Linked DNA regions of Homo sapiens: all the other regions are linked to region 1. The links are contacts of gene promoters, found by promoter capture Hi-C in blood cells and fetal thymus (Javierre and others, 2016). All regions are on one chromosome and are shown on one strand. Each heading gives the region's core, a stretch centred on a gene start or on the middle of the fragment in contact. The rest is flanking DNA. Distances are from core to core; before and after follow the strand shown.

Region 1 (3,552 bases), core at 378-2,877:
CTTCAGCTCCTGCATTTCCTGAGGCTGGAATACCCTCCACCATCCTGGACTCCACTGAGTCCCCTTGAAGGCCCAGCTCAGGTATCCTCCTGTCCACAGAGGAGTCCCCTTTTTTTTTTTTTTGAGACGGAGTCTCCCTCTGTCACCCAGGCTGAAGTGCAGTGGTGCGATCTCGGCTTACTGCAACCTCCGCCTCCCAGGTTCAAGCAATTCTCCTGCCTCAGCCTCCTGAGTAGCTGGGATTACAGGTGCCTGACACCATTCCTGGCTAATTGTATTTTTAGTAGAGACAGGATTTCACCATGTTGGCCAGGTGAGTCTCGAACTCTTGACTTCAAGTGATCTGCCCACCTCGGATCTCAGATCTCAAAATGCTGGGATTACAGGCTTGAGCCACTGCACCTGGCCCTGTCCACAGAGGAGTCCTTGAAGGCCCTCAGAACAATTCATGAGCCCCTTGTGTTCCTCCACTTCTGATTCACACCTCTATTTAGTCATTTCTTCCCTTTGCCTTGTTTCTTAGTTGACTATGAAACCAACAAATGGGCTAAAATGAATCCTGGGTTGGTAAAAAGAAGGCAGGGTCTGACCCTTATTGGTCCACCCATTTCTACAGCTCTGGGCTCTTGGCAGAGCCAACACTAGATGAAGTATTAGTTTAAATAAAGTGAAGAGTAGGGGCCGGGCATGGTGGCTCATACCTGTAATCCCAGTACTTTGGGAGGCCAAGGTGGGTGGATCATCTGAGGCCAGGAGTTTGAGACCAGCCTGACCAACAGAGTGAAACCCCATCTCTACTAAAAATACAAAAATTAGCCAGGCATGGTGGTGCATGCCTGTAATCCCAGCTACTCGGGAGGCTGAGGCAGGAGAATCGCTTGAACCCAGGAGGCGGAGGTTGCAGTGAGTCAAGATCATGCATTGCACTCCAGCCTGGGCAACAGAGGGAGACCCCGTCTCAAAAAAAAAAATGCAGAATAGGACAAGCCAGCACCCCCTGCCACCGCTCCACTTCCTTATCCCAGAGAAAATGCAATTGCCCAGAACACCACACGCCAAAGGACTCCCCAAGGGTGGCCAGCAGGCTGGCAAAATCCATGCTTCATTTCCCAGCATCCCTTCCTCACTCTCTTCTTCACTGGCCAAATACTGGAGTTTCCCCTGCCCCAGCCTCCCACTCAGTCACTGGGGCATCACAGGGCCACACATTCCTGAAAGTCCCAGGCAGCACCCAGCTGTCTGCTTTGTACAGCCCACTGTCTCTCAAGGCCCAGGAGGGTGAGCAGTCTTAGGAAGCCCAGCCCAGCTCCCCATCTCACTGACTTAATTTTGAAGGCTGAAGCCTCAGTCTTCTGCTGCCAGCAATACCCCCTGCCAGTAATACCCTGGGACAGGAATGAGGCCCAACTGGGCCCCTGGGGACATCTGCCCCCCTCCCCACCACAGGTGTAGCAGACAGGATCTCCCTCCCCTTGACAGCAGAACTGGATCTCCTCAGACCCCCTTGGGCACCTCCACCCCTGCTCGCACCTCATTCTCCTCCTCCTGTGCCAGCCGCTGCTCGATGAGCGCTGTGGCCCTCTGCACCGCCTCGGAGTCCTCCATGGTGCCGTCCATAACCGCCTCTGCAGGCCACAGGGCCTCGGGGGCTTTATAGGCCAGAGCACCCACCCCTGCCCAGCTGGGCGCCTTTGCCATGAGCTCACTGGCCCAATTCTCCACCTGCCTCCCCCACCTGTCACCTTCACCTCGGGCAGCCCCAGGGAGCAGGGGGAGCCAGGGCCAGGGAGCAGAGCCAGTTGCCCCCCCAACTCCTGGCCTATTAGAGCCGGAGGGCACTGTGTCCCAAGAGCAGGGGTGCAGGAAGGAGCCCGTCCAGCCTCTGTCCTGAGCACTTGGGACTGGTTGGGCCTTAGCCAAGGCAACTGAGTTGCAAAAGGGAACTGCTGGCTGCATGCTCCAGCCCAGATGACAGTGCCACCTGCTGGATGCCTGGAAACCCTGCTCAGCCAGCTCCAGGAAGAGGGCCTGAAAACCAAACGGGGGACCCAGGACAGTTCTGTACTCCCAGGCTGTCCTGCAGACAGGCCCTGCTGGCTGTGAGGAGGGTCACACTCTACTTGTCCAGGCCAGGGCCGTGGTAGCAGGAAGGGCAGCTGTCTCCCTCTCTGATCACAGCTCACGCTGGCCTTCGGCTCTCCGGGGTCCCACATGCTTCCCCGTTAAGCATCACTGCATTTGGCTGGGTGACTTTTAGTCATGAACAAACCTTATCCAATCTGTCTCCTCTCTTGGTAAGTGCTCAGGGGACCTCTGCAGGGCTTACAGAGTCTTGCTTCAAGAAAGGGGTCTCCGGAAAGCACTAAGCCCAGCTAGCGAGGAACAGCAGCTACTCTGGATCCTTCTACCCTCCCAGGGTTTCCCTGTCAGGCCCAGACAGTGCCAGACTTCCCTGGCCAGGAGGCTGCCCATGCTCACTAAGAAGGAAAAATACTCCCAAGTGGAGCAAAAGCAGATCTGTACTTGCTCAGTTCCACACCTGGAACTCGCATGCTGGAGCTCTGAGTCACTGTGACCCAGGTTAATCTGCTAGGGAACTGCAGACACCCAGCCCTGTGCTTCTGTAAGGCTCACCTGGCTGGTGGCTGCCCTTAGCTAAACAGCCTTATATAAGATTCCCTTCTCTTCAGATATGCATGCATTCCCCTAGGAAGCATGAGGAACCGGTTCCTTTTCCTTTCTGGTTCCCTTGCTGGGAAGCTGACACAAACCTCTGACACACGATCTAAATCTGTCAGAGATTTTGCTTTAACATCACGATGGCTACAGCGTCTCCAGGGCCGGAAGTTAGCCCCTCTTGCTGCAGGAGCAGACCACCTTCCTGAGGTGCTGTCTTCGCCTTGCAAGCACTTTCACATCTGTCTTCCTGCTTAATCCTCCCAGCAACTGATGGAGGAGGCAGGGCAGGCAGCATGGCTCTGCTTTAAAGAAAAGCAAAGAGTGGCTTTTCCTGAGGACTCATGAGGACACCAGGGGAGCTGGGATCAGGGCCCAGAAGACTGGCAGTTCCAGGCTCACTCTGCTGGAGATTGCATGCCCAGAGCAGCTGGGGAGGCCAGGCATCCACCTGTTCCCATACCAGAACAGCTCCAGGGGCCCCACAGAGCTGCAGGAGAATTCAGTCAAATGCCAGGCAAGCGAGAAGGAGCAAAAGGCTTTATTGATAAATATGCAGATATGTCTGTCCACAGGGACCTGCTGTGGAGGCCATGACCAGGCTGCAGACCTCCCACTGCCTGGGTTACAGCCAGGACATGGCCCTGTGCAGACCCTGCCACGACAGCCCAGCTGTCCACCACCCGCCTCATCTCTGCCAATTGTGCTGGGGGCAGGGAGAGGCAGAGGCCCGCCTCAGGCTTCCCAAGCCCTGGGGCTCACGGGTGGTTCCCTCCCTTCCAAGGGAGTGGCACTGTGCCCAGGGGAGAGCCAGGGGATGGGGGCAGAGGAGGGAGACAGCAGCTGCTTCAGACCCTGAGCAGAAAACCAGAGTGA
Region 2 (3,286 bases), core at 385-2,884, 310 kb after region 1:
TGGTCTCAAACTCCTGGCCTCAAGCAGTCCTCCCACCTCAGCCTCCCAAAGCGCTGGGATTACAGGTGTGAGCCACCATGCCTGGCCTTCTGTTTGTTTGTTAAATTAAATACTAACACGCTAGATATCTCCTTACTTACTAGATATATGCTTCTTACTTGAATAAGAAGATGGTCTTTCCCTTCAGGGAACCTACAGTCTAATATTGAACTTAGAGAGAGCTGATTGAGAGTTGTCCTGCTCGCGTTTTCTGGTGCACTTCCAGTTCTAAGGTTTTTGTTTACTGACCATGTGAAAATGCTTGCTGAATTGTAAAATAGGATGCTTGAGTGGTTTTAGGTATGATGATTTTGTACTATTTGTGTGAAATATAGCCCTGTCATATCATATGGTTTTTCAGAAAAAGGAGTGATATTTGGGTCCCCACTGACGGAGGAAGGCATTGCCCAGATATACCAACTGATTGAGTATCTACACAAAAGTAAGACTACTTGAAATTTTATCATTCTTTGTTTAATGAAGAATTCTGTTTTCTGTTGAGAGCTAACTGCCTTGAGTTAGTAGGTGCCAATTAACCATCAACAAAGGAACTAACCAGTGTTAATTTTGGGTGGCATGTTTTTAAATATATTTCCTTTTAAACTTCATCTCATATATTCATTTGTTTTATACTCTCAAAGTGTATATAAATTAGACCGTGTCTATGAAGTCACATTTACCTCTTGCCTCAGAGAGACACTTCTGGAAAAATACATTGTCCCTAAAGAATTGTTGCATTTATTTAAGAGAGCATGGTACCTTTTTTCTCCAGAATTCTATGATTAAAACACACTCTTTACTTTTTTTTTTTTTTTGAGACAAGGTCTCGTTCTCTCACCCAGGCTGGGGTGCAGTGGTGTGATCTTGGCTCACTGCAGCCTTGACCTCCCGGGCTCAGGTGATTCTCCCACCTTGGCCTCCCTAGTAACTGGGATCACAAGCTTGCACCACCACACCCGGCTACTTTTTGTAGTTTTTTGTAGAGATGGGATTTTGCCATATTGCCTAGGCTTGTCTTGAACTACTGTGCTCAAGTGATTCATCCGCCTAGGCCTCCCAAAGTGCTGAGATTATAGGCGTGAGCCATTGAGCCTGGCCTAGGGACGAATAGTTTAGTTGGGATGACCCTAAAGCTTCTGGGAATCTCTTAGGAATTTGACACATTAGAGTTCTAATTCCTGGAGCAATGCAGAGACTCTGGATTCATTCTGGGCTGGGAAAACAGTTTACAAGAGCCACAAACATCCACAGATGTATGTAGCCCCTCCAAACGAAGTCTGGGATAAACAAGAAGAGGTCTTTAGGGAGATTTGGCTTTTTTAAAGTTTATTTTTCAAGCTATTCCTGACCATTGATTGGGTTAAATTCAGATTGTCTATCCATACCTCAGGAGGTTGAATGACTCCCAGGAGGACTACCTTTTAGTTTGGAAGATCTCCAAATGCTCAGGGACATTCAGATATGTCTCCTCAGGAGGTCAATAGGTTCTAAACTACCCTGGTGAAAAAAGGCAAAAACTTACTTGAAAGGCTTTGTGAAGGGTCTTTTAAGTGTAAAGTAGTCTTTAGACCATTTATTTTAATAATAATCTTTCTGCTTCCTTTTTGCCTGTCCTCTGCTTTGTTTTATGCTAAACAGACTTGCGAGTAGAGGGTTTGTTTAGAGTACCGGGTAATAGTGTCCGACAGCAGATTTTAAGGGATGCTCTCAATAATGGAACTGACATTGACTTGGAATCAGGGGAATTTCACTCAAATGATGTTGCCACTTTGCTGAAGATGTTTCTAGGAGAGTTGCCGGAGCCTCTGCTGACACATAAACACTTCAATGCACACCTCAAAATCGCTGGTGAGTATAGGAAGTAAGAAGGAGATGTAAATACATTTCTTTCAATTTAGTAAAGTTCCTAGGAAATTTCTGTTGCTTGTGACCCACAGAAATACTTCTATTAATATTGGTTAAGATTTCGTGATGTTGCTGGACTTCTCTGGGTACTCATAGGTATTGGCTAGTTAAGTTTAATTTTAATTGAATGGCTTTCTTGATAAATAAGCTTTGTATTGAGATAAGGAGCTGGTAGTAAGATGTCGTCTGAGTTTTATTTATTTTTGAATCTCTGATAGATCCTCGAGTAGTGTGTAGAACATTTTAGTTGGAGACATGATCTCACTCTGTCACTTAGGCTGGAGTGCAGTGGTGCAACCTTGGCTCACTGCAGCCTTGCTCTCCCGGGCTCAGGTGAGCCTCCCACCTCAGCCTCCCAAGTAGCTGGGACTATAGGTGTGCGGCACCACGCCTGGCAAATTTTTTTGTAATTTTTGTAGACATGGGGTTTCGCCGTGTTGCCCAGACTCAAACTCCTGGGCCAAAGCCATCTGCCCACCTTGGCCTCCTGAAGTGCTGGGATTATAGGCATGAGCCACTGTGCCCAACGTGTTTTAGTTGCTTAATAAATGTATGCTTTTCATTGGATTGATTCATATATTTCAGATGTTTATAGGTTCGGTATTTTTGCCTTGGTTTGGGGTTTTTGCTCAGTATTTCTATGCCTCGGTTGAGGGCATCTCTACTCTTGGAAATTTTATTTGTTTGTTTGTTTGTTTTGAGACTGAGTCTCGCTCTGTCACTAGGCTGGAGCGCAATGGTGCAATCTCGGCTCACTGCAACCTCCGCCTCCCGGGTTCAAGTGATTCTCCTGCCTCAGCCTCCCGAGTAGCTGGGACTACAGGCACGCGCTACCACGCCTAGCTAATTTTTGTATTTTTAGTAGAGACGGGATTTCACCATGTTGGCCAGGCTGGTCTCGAACTTCTGATCTTGTGATCGGCCTACCTTGGCCTCCCAAAGTGCTGGGATTACAGATGTGAGCCACTGTGCCCAGCCAAGGAAATTTATTTTTTTTAAAAATTATTATTTGTTTTCTGAATAGAAACACATAGTTCAAAATTCAGATGATTCAAATAATATACAGTAAAAACCTTCTCTCCTACACTTGTTCCCCAACACCCAGTTCACCCAGTCCCCAACACCAGTAACACTGGTTAGTGTTACTGATTTAAAAAAAAAAAAATTTTTTTTTTTTTTTTTTAAAAGAAAGCCTGTTCCCCAGGCTGGTCTCAAACTCCTGGCTTCAAGTGATCCTCCCTCCTCAGTCTCCCAAAGTGCTAGGATTGCAGGCATGAGCCGCAGCCCCCAGACCAGTGTTACTGATTTCTAAAGTATCCTTCCAGAGATATTTTGTGTACTT
Region 3 (3,628 bases), core at 751-3,250, 340 kb after region 1:
CCATGTGTTCTCATTGTTTAGCTCCCACTTTTTTTTTTTAGATGGAGTCTCTCTCTGTCACCCAGGCTGGAGTGCAGTGGCTTGATCTCAGCTCACTGCAGCCTCCGCCTCCTGGTTTCAAGCCATTTTCCTGCCTCAGCCTCCCAAGTAGCTGGGACTACAGGCGTGCGCCACCATGCCTGGCTCATTTTTGTAGTTTTAGTAGAGACGAGGTTTCACCATGTTGGCCAGGCTGGTCTCGAACTCGTGACCTCAAGTGATCCACCCGCCTTGGCCTTCCAAAGTACTGGGATTATAGGCATGAGCCACTGCACCCGGCCAGCTCCTACTCACAAGTGAGAACATGTGGTGTTTGGTTTTCTGTTCTTGTGTTAGTTTGCTGAGGATGGCTTCCTTTTGTTTTTATTTTTGGTGTTTTGCCCTGCTTTTCTTTTAAAAATTACTTTGTTATTAAGATATATAATTCCAGCAACACAGGGAGCTCTTTGCTTAAAATTTAAAATTTTTGCCCTAAAAATAAATAACTTGTAATATTTATTTATTTATTTATTTTTGAGACAGGGTCTTGCTCTGCTGCTCAGGCTGAAGTACAAGTGGCACCATCATGGCTTATTGCAGCCTTGATCTCCTGGGCGCTCAGCGATCCTCCTACTTCAGCCTCCCAAGTAGCTGGGACCACAAGTGCATGCCATCATACCTGGCTGATTTTTAAATGTTTGTAGAGATGGGGTCTTGCTGTGTTGCTGGTCTTTTTTTTTTGAGACAGTCTCGCTCTATGCCTCAGGCTGGAGTGCAGTGGCGTGATCTCAGCTCACTGCAACCTCCATCTCCAGGGTTCAAGTGATTCTTCCACCTCAGCCTCCCTAGTAGCTGGGATTACAGGCGCCCACCACCATGCCCGGCTAATTTTTTGTATTTTTAGTAGAGATGGGGTTTCACCATGTTGGCCAGCCTGGTCTTGAACTCCTGGCCTCAAGTAATCTGCCCGCTTCGGCCTCCCAAAGTGCTGAGATTATAGGCGTGAGCCACCATGCCCAGCCTGTGTTGCTGGTCTTGAATTTCTGGGCTCAAGTGATCCTCCTGCTTTGGCCCCCTGAAGTGCTGGGATTACAGATGTGAGCCACTGTGTCTGTAATTTTTTTTTTTTGAGGTACAGCTGTTAGCATTTACAAATTCATCTTACTGTAATTTTGGTCCTAGTTATAATTTATAGATATCTAGAATTCACTCTCAATCCTGACCTCCTGGGGCCAGTAGCTTCTAGGACATTAGGCTTACTTGACATCAAAATTTCCTTTGCCATCTACAGAGTGAAAAGGCAACCCTGGATTGGGAGAAAATATTTGCAAATCATATTTATGATTAGGGATTAATATCCATAATAATCTAAAGAACTCCTATAACTCAACACAGCAAAAACAACCTCATTAAAGAGTGGGCAGAGGCCGCGCACAGTGGCTCACGCCTGTAATCCCAGTACTTTGGGAGGCTGAGGTGGGCGGATCACGAGGTCAGGAGATTAAGACCATTCTGGCTAACACGGTGAAACTCCATCTCTATTAAAAATACAAAAAATTAGCCGGGCATGTTGGCATGTGCCTGTAGTCCCAGCTACTCAGGAGGCTGAGGCAGGAGAATCGTTTGAACCCAGGAGGCAGAGGTTGCAGTGAGCCGAGATTGAGCCACTGTACTCCAGCCTGGGTGACAGAGCGAGACTCTGTCTCAAAAAAAAAAAAAAAAAAAAAAAAAAATAGTGAGCAAAGGACTTAAATAGAAATTTCTCCAGAGAAGATGTACAGATGGCCAAGAAACACATGAAAAGATGTTCAACATCACTAATCATTAGGGAAATGTAAATCAAAACCACAATTAGATACCACTTCACACCCACTAGGATGACTATTATTAAAAAAAAAAAAAAAAAAACAACGGAAAATAACAAATGTTGATGAGGATGTGGAGAATTTGGAACCCCTATGCATTATTGATAGGGATGTAAAATGGAGGAGCCACTGTGGAAAACAGTATGGCAGTTCCTAAAAAATTTAAATAGAATGACCTTGTGATCCAGCAATGCTACTCCCGGTATATAACCAAAAGAATTGAAAGCAGGGTCTTGAGGCAATATTTGTACACCCGTATTCATAGCAGCATTATTCACAAAAGCCAAAAGGCAGAAGCAACCCAACTGTCTATTGACTGATGAATGGATGACAAACCTTGGATATACAGATAATGGAACATTATTTGTCCTTAAAAAGGAAAGAAATTCTGACATATCCTACAACATGCGTGAATCTTGAAGATATTATGCTAAGAGAAATAATCCAGTCATAAAAGGAAAAATACTGTATGATTCCACTGAGGTACCTGTGAGTCAAGTTCAGAGACAGAAAGTAGAGAAGGTGGTTGGTTGTCAGGGGAGCTAAGAGTATGAGGAGAATGGGGAGATATTATTTAATGGGTACAGTATTTCTGTTTGGGAGGATGAGAAAGTTCTGAAGATAGATGATGGTGATGGTTGCACAACACTATTAATATACTTAATACCATTGAACTGTATACTTAAAAATGGTTAAAATAGTAAATTTTATGTTATGTTCATTTTATCATTGTTTAAAAAAAATCCCTTAGCTAGAATCCTAAAAGTGCATTTACCTGCTTAGACAGGGCTAGTAAAACGAACATCGTTAGTTTACTCTTGTTTTTTTCTTCTCATTTGGAAGAATCTGTCATTCCCTCTGACTTCCCTGTCATAGAGATGATTGAGAATCAGAAAAGTTATAGTCAGATAAATGTTCCTCTATGTGTTAGTCTTTTTTTTTTTTTTTTTTTTTTTTTTTTTTGGTGAGACAAGAGTCTCACTAGGTGTGCAGGCTGGAGTGCAGTGGCATGATCTCAGCTCACTGCAACTTCCACTTCCTGGGTTCAAGTGATTCTCATGCCTCGGCCTCCCGAGTAGCTGGGATTACAGGCATGCACCACCACGCCCAGTTAATTTTAGTAGAGACAGTATTTCACCATGTTGGCCAGGCTGGTCTCAAACTCCTGGCCTCCAGCGATTCACCCGCCTCAGCGTCCCAAAGTGCTGAGATTACAGGCGTGAGCCACCGCTCCCGGCCTAAAATATTATTTTTGTGTTTTCCCTCAGCCTTATCAAGGTATAATTGACCATCTAGCCTGTCTGGATCCCTTTTTTGGCTAGAGTTTTTTCCTCCAGAACTCCTCTCATGTAAATTATTTATTAAATCAGAATGTTCTGAATATTGCTGCTCATATTTATAATGCAGGGTTTAATGTTCTAGTTTTGATATGTTCTTTTTTTAGAATTCAAATTTATTCTCTAAGGGAAAAAAAAATTTCTCCAAAGATGGTAGAATTGTCACTGTTGGCGGTTACCTAAACTACATCATCTTCTAAGCTGTTCAGAGATGAAAGGGCTTTTAGTCTTGCTCTGAATGTCAGTACAGTCATGTGACCCCCTTAAGAAGGCCTCTACCTTCTTGTGGCTATATTAGGAACTCTTATAGAATGTCTCCAAATGTTCCAGTCCTGTGTGAGTAAATGACAGGGAGGAAGAAGTGCCTTAGAGAAGAGCCAGCCTAAGTATCCCTCAGTGGTAAGTAGG

Evidence for each region. Contacts are between HindIII fragments. The CHiCAGO score rates a contact against its expected background, and 5 or more counts as called.
Region 2: a fragment that was not itself captured here is called in contact with the fragment with the promoter of ANKRD2 in region 1 in 1 of 17 cell types (neutrophils); the score reaches 6.1 in neutrophils.
Region 3: a contact is called between a fragment that was not itself captured here and the fragment with the promoter of ANKRD2 in region 1, in 1 of 17 cell types (neutrophils). The highest score is 6.7, in neutrophils.

Annotation. Positions count from the first base shown.
Region 1 is chr10:97,570,854-97,574,405 of GRCh38, reverse strand. ANKRD2 (ankyrin repeat domain 2) reads right to left here and starts at 1,627. Exons shown (of 9, transcript NM_001346793.2): 1 at 1,531-1,627. The coding sequence starts at 1,617. UBTD1 (ubiquitin domain containing 1) reads right to left here. Exons shown (of 3, transcript NM_024954.5): 3 at 3,200-3,552. The HindIII fragment of the contact is 18,561 bases long and covers 1-3,552 here.
Region 2 is chr10:97,262,021-97,265,306 of GRCh38, reverse strand. It overlaps ARHGAP19 (Rho GTPase activating protein 19), which reads left to right. Exons shown (of 12, transcript NM_032900.6): 3 at 401-481; 4 at 1,678-1,887. ARHGAP19-SLIT1 (ARHGAP19-SLIT1 readthrough (NMD candidate)) reads left to right here. Exons shown (of 15, transcript NR_037909.1): 3 at 401-481; 4 at 1,678-1,887. Among named protein-coding and RNA genes, the nearest start is that of ARHGAP19, 29 kb to the left of the region's middle. The HindIII fragment of the contact is 920 bases long and covers 1,175-2,094 here.
Region 3 is chr10:97,230,278-97,233,905 of GRCh38, reverse strand. The region is part of intron 9 of ARHGAP19 (Rho GTPase activating protein 19); the gene reads left to right. The region is part of intron 9 of ARHGAP19-SLIT1 (ARHGAP19-SLIT1 readthrough (NMD candidate)); the gene reads left to right. It overlaps LOC105378447 (a long non-coding RNA gene), which reads right to left. Exons shown (of 3, transcript XR_946226.3): 3 at 2,668-2,750. Among named protein-coding and RNA genes, the nearest start is that of SLIT1, 46 kb to the right of the region's middle. The HindIII fragment of the contact is 6,324 bases long and covers 1-3,628 here.